Linked DNA regions of Homo sapiens: region 2 is linked to region 1. Evidence: promoter capture Hi-C in human tissues and cell types (Jung and others, 2019). All regions are on one chromosome and are shown on one strand. Each heading gives the region's core, a stretch centred on a gene start or on the middle of the fragment in contact. The rest is flanking DNA. Distances are from core to core; before and after follow the strand shown. Region 1 has its middle 11 kb from the start of MIR4448. Region 2 holds the start of DVL3 (dishevelled segment polarity protein 3).

Region 1 (2,700 bases), core at 60-2,559:
ACAGGCATAAGCCGCCATGCCCAGCCCCATTATTAACTTATTATTAATTTGCCCAGACTTGAGGTTCCTTCCTCCACAGATTTTTTTCTTCACAGAAGCCCTATCCTTCGGACGCTTTGTTGCTGTTTCTTTTCCATAGATAGAGAAACTTCAGCATAGGCAGCTTAAGAAACTGCCCAAACACAGCTAGTAAGTGACTTAGCTGAGTTTCAAATGCATGTCCCTCTGACTCTAAAGTGTTTTCTTTTCCTACCATATGCCCTGCTGTTTGTATTTATACGAAAATGCCACTCTAGGTAAGTGAACCAATGTGTTCAATGGAGATGTTTTACACTGTCATTCTGTCCTTGGCAGAAATTGGCCAGCAAGTTTACAGGTTTGTCAAGAGTCTCTGGGAAAGTGGATAGGACCAGGGCATCAGGTCATCTTGCTGCTGGCGTGGCAGAAGGACCCAGGCCCAGGTTGTCTAGAAGCTGTGCCAACTTAAGTTAAAAAGAGGGGGCCAGGGTACTGCTCTGTGTTATGCCGTTTGGGATTAGAAATTTCCTTATTAAGAGCTCATTCCTGCCAATTTGATTCTAGGACTTGTTCTGTGATAAAGGCTCCAGGGGCCCATTAACGAGCTGAAATCAATATTGAGCTTTTACAACTTGGACGAGAGATGTCTGCTGAAAGTGGAATCAAAGCTTGACAGTAGATCATTAAATGTTACAGATATTCCTAAACTGTTCCTAACCATTTCATCAGCTGAGTGATCGTGACAACAGCAATAGTCCCTGATACGACGGTTGCACTTCCAGCCTGTCTCTCTTCTCAGACATTCTATTTGATTGCGAATTCCAAATTGCCATTTACTGGGCAGAAGCTGGCACAGCGACCCCAGGAGGTACCCAGCAGGTAGATGGTTCTACAGTCTGGGGAAGTGGAGGGCGGTTGTTGCGGGGGGCGGGGCGCTGTCCTTTTTGCATACTGGATAGGCTGTGCTCTGAACCTGTTCCATGAGCTGAGAACCTCCTTTGCAAGGAGGCCAGAACATCACCCAAAAAAGGACACAAATAATTCTGGAGGGAAAAGAGCATCTTGCTAGGAGCCTCCTCCTCTGAAGGTGATTAGTAAGAACCGTTGCAATGCAGAGGTTACTTAATCCCAGGTAGAGAAAATGGGGGAATTCCCATGACTAGAACTGGGAAATCTATAGCTCACTCAGGCAGCAGCAAGAACACAGGCCTCCCCAACACCTCTGCTTGAAGCTACAGAGTGAGCAAGTCTGGGTGCCCTATTGGTACACATGGCTAGGATGAGGCACCTTGCCTAAGCGTGCCGTACTGCAACAACGGCAAAAAAGAACAATTTCCCCTGAAAACAATTTCTGCATTCTGTTTTTTTTTTTGTTGTTGTTGTTTTGTTTTTTTAGATGGAATCTTGCTCTGTCGCCCAGGCTGGAATGCAGAGGCGTGATCTTGGCTCACTACAACCTTTGCCTGCCTCAGCCTCCCGAGTAGCTGAGACTATAGGCACTTGCCACCACGCCCGACTAATTTTTGTATTTTTAGTAGAGATGGGGTTTCACCGTGTTGGCCAGGCTGGTCTCAAACTCCTGACCTCAAGCGATCCGCCCTGATTGGCCTCCCAAAGTGCTGGGATTACAGGTGTGAGCCACTGCGACCAGCCAGCATCTGCTGCTCCATTTCTGCATTCTTTATTGGTTTCTGTTTAGAATGCAGGCTTCAAACTCGCTAAGCTTTTTTTTTTTTTTTTAATTTCAAGCTTTTTCTTTGGTCAGAATCAAGAATTCTGTAGTCAGCCCTCTGGTCTCTACAGGGATAGCTGGTTTAATTTTGTGGTATTTGGTAAATGAGCCCTGGGGTATGAGGCCTTCCCCGGAATCCCAGAGCTGAGTGTTCTAGGGCTGGGGACCATAACCGACCCCATCCTGGCTCCACTTTGGCCTCCTTATGCTGTTTCCGGTCAGCCCAGGGCCCACATGGTAAGGAGCAGATGTTACCCTGCTCCCATCTGCTTGGTCTGATTCTCTTTCTAATCACTCACTTCTCCTTTGAGATAGAGTGAGGGCTGAGGTGAGGGTGAGAGGGAAGATTTGGGTTTGGGTTTGGGGGAAGGTGAGGGTTGGGGTTAGGTTGAAGGTTAGAGTTGGGCTTATGGTTCATGTTTTCCTCTCCCCAACCCTAAAGAGTGAAGCTTGCTGTCTCCTCTCTGTCTTTCCATCACTCAGTTCCTCTTTCTCTGCTTGTTTGCCATTCCATTTCTCCTCGTTCTGTCTCTTCCTCTTAACACCCACGTGTGCACACATCCCCTGCCCCAGTGTGTATTGTCCTGGGCTGTCCTTGGCCCCTTCCAGACATGCCCCCAGCTGTTGGCCTTCTCTGTAGGAGGCAATGGCTTCATGTCCCTAGACGTGGCTGGGAGTCTTCAGGACAAAGCTGGGCAGTCCTTAGCCAGGAGGGTGTCCTGCTCAGCTCCTTCACTGATGTGAGCCTGGAGGAAGGGCAGCCTGAGGGCCGGCTGCTGAGTCTCCTCAAGGCCCCTGGACTACTCCCACCAACACACTGGGTATTCTCCAAGCTCACTGTGGCTCAGTGTCAGGGCTGGGTACTGGGTACCATCTGAGGCTCCCTGAGCCACACCAGCATCTCTCTGCAGGGCACCATCATCTTACCCAACCTGGCCTCTGTGCTCTAT
Region 2 (2,700 bases), core at 68-2,567, 260 kb before region 1:
AGCTGCTTCAGAACCTTCCGGCTCCAACATTCCATCCCCTCTTAAAGGGAAAGTGACTGCTTCCAAACTGTGCCTGTCCAGATCTCTGCAGCTGGGTGGAAGGGAAGACCCCACCAGGGAGGGGAAGATAGAGAACACCAAGAAACTCTTCCTGGCTATCCCACCCAGGCCCCAGGCCCTTCCTAACGTCTCTCCACTGGCCACCAACTGGAGGAAAAAAGCCCGAATTGGAGGAAAGATCAGCACCTGGGTCAGTGAGGACTACTCCGCAGGGGTCAGGCTCTCTGTTCCGGTGACAACACCCACAACAGCCCACAAAGGAGAGGGCAGGCAGCTAGATAAACATCAGATCTGCAGACCCCGCTCGCGGCCAGGCGCCCGAGCACCCCCGACACCCCTCCCCCAGCTCAAAGTCCCAGCAGAGCCCTCAGATGCAGCATACTCCAAATATGGCTGGGAGCTGTGCTGCTGAAAAGATGAAGGGGGCGAAGAACGAGGGCCACACGACCCAAGTCTGTGCGGAAAAAGGTGGCTCTGGCTCCTCGGCAGGAGGAGGATGGGGGACTCGGGCTCTGAAACTAGGTGGAGGGGGGGTGTGTCTGTCTCTGTGGGCCACTGGTCTCTGAAGAGGTAAGGGGACCGCACCGGCAGGAACTCTGATTGCTAGTGGGGAATTGGACGTCCCCTTAAACAAGGGAGGCCAACGTCCCCTCTTCAGAGGTAAACGGGAGTTGCTACTGGGGCTGGAACCAAAGGGGCCCAAATGGGCCGAGTCGCCCCTAGAAGTCAGAGCGGGGCTAGGAGCCGGTGTAGCGAGGCAAGTCGAAACGGACCGCGTCATCCCTTAGAAGCCAGAGCGGCCGGGGCTCCCGGAGGCGGGGCGGGGGCCATCCTCACCCGAAATCGTCGTCCATAGACTTGAAGAAGAACTTATAGCTGGGTCGCTGCAAAACGCCCTTAAAGTCCGCCAAGGTGACGCGCTCGGCGGGCAGGGGCAGCTTCACAAGGTACGGCGTCTCCTGCCCATCCAAGTGGTAGATGATCTTGGTCTCGCCCATGGCTCTGGCCTCGGGCCCGGCGGCCCGCGCGCGGCCTGCTCGGGCGGCCGGGCCGAGCCTCCCAGACGGCGGCGGCGCGCGGCGCGGCCCAGCGGCTCAACCCAGCTCGGCGGCTGCTGGCGGCGCCAGCTCCCTTGTTCTCCGGCCGCTACCGGGTCCCAGCGCCGCCCGCCGCCGCCGCGGCCGCCGCTTCCGCTCCCCACTCTCCCGACTGGACTGGCGACCGCGACTCTTCCGGTGGCCGCGGCCCTCCCGGCCCAGGGCTTCGTCCGGGCCCGCTCCCCTCCTCCGGCCCGGCGCGGCCCCGCCCCGGCGCGCCCCGCCCCCGGCCGCCGCGGAGAGGCGCCGGCGTCGCGGCAGATGGCAGGGTTTCCCGCCCACTGGCCGGGCCGCGGCGCTCCGGTCCCGGGTCCCTAGAAACGGAAGGGGAGATTCACCGGGATGGCGGCGTTCCCGGACCCCTGAAGGCCCTGACTCCGGACCCAAGTGGGATCGGCGACTCCTCTGCAGTCCAGGAAGAGTGGAATGCAGGGATTGCTTTGGTCCCCAGAAATGGTCTGGGGAAAGAGGGTGGGTCTGACTCTGGATCCCTGGAGGAGAATGACCTCAACATGGCCCTTCAGTGTTTCTTGAGAAGCACAACTGCTGTCACTGAGTCTACTAAACTGATCTCGAGAGAAGGACAGCATCCAGTTCTGATTCCTCCCTATAACCTTAGCGTCCAGTTGCAAGGTAGTGGTTTAATAAATGGGTTGAATGCGGAATAAGTGGGGCCCGGGCGCGGTGGCTCACGCTTCTAATCCCAGCACTTTGGGAGGCCAAGGCGGGCGGATCGCCCGAGGTCGAGAGTTCAAGACCAGCCTGACCAACATGGAGAAACCCTGTCTCTACTAAAAATACAAAAAAATTAGCCGGGCGTGGTGGCGCATGCATGTAATCTCAGCTACTCGGGAGGCTGAGGCAGAAGAATCGCTTGAACACGGGCGGCGGAGGTTGCGGTGAGCCGAGATCGGTGAGTCGAGATCCTGCCTTTGCACTCCAGCCTGGGCAACAAAAGTGAAACTCCATCCCCCCTCGCCCCCCCCCAAAAAAAAAGATAAGTGGATGCATGCATGCCTAAGACAGTAAGTCTCAAACCAGAACTCCAGAACTAGGTATAGCCGGTTCCTCACAGATCTCCTCACCCCTTAACTTTTAATTCATTTAATAAATACTGAAGGCCTACTGTGTATAAGGCATATCGCATGAGATATAGCGATAGCGAGACAGACAAGGCTGCTCTCAGGACCTTCCCTCAGCTGGAGGGAAGCACATAGGCTTGTAAATACATAACTTCAGAGTGACCACTGCTATGAAGAAGGTAAAACAAAGTGATGGGATAGTGACAGGGGAAGCCAGGCGCAATGGCTCATGCCTGTAATTCCAACATTTTGGGAGGCTGAGGCAGGTGGATCACCTGAGGTTAGGAGTTCGAGACCAGCCTGGCCAAAATGGTGAAACCCCGTCTCTAGTAAAAATACAAAAATTAGCTGGACATGGTGGCGCATGCCTGTAGTCCCAGCTACTCGGGAGGCTGAGGCAGGAGAATCGCTTGAACCCGGGAGGTGGAGCTTGCAGTGAGCCGAGATCCCACCACTGCACT

The links. The method cuts DNA at HindIII sites, captures the fragments that hold promoters and counts their contacts. A contact is called where the count stands out against the background at its distance.
Region 2: a contact is called between the fragment with the promoter of DVL3 here and a fragment that was not itself captured in region 1, in 1 of the 25 tissues and cell types used here (spleen).

What each region holds. Positions count from the first base shown.
Region 1 is chr3:183,896,318-183,899,017 of GRCh38, reverse strand. It overlaps the pseudogene CYP2AB1P. Among named protein-coding and RNA genes, the nearest start is that of MIR4448, 11 kb to the right of the region's middle. The HindIII fragment of the contact is 5,560 bases long and covers 1-2,700 here.
Region 2 is chr3:184,153,994-184,156,693 of GRCh38, reverse strand. It overlaps DVL3 (dishevelled segment polarity protein 3), which reads right to left and starts at 1,317. Exons shown (of 15, transcript NM_004423.4): 1 at 898-1,317. The coding sequence starts at 1,058. RefSeq lists an enhancer at 1-733 and a silencer at 1,071-1,420. The HindIII fragment of the contact is 10,362 bases long and covers 1-2,700 here.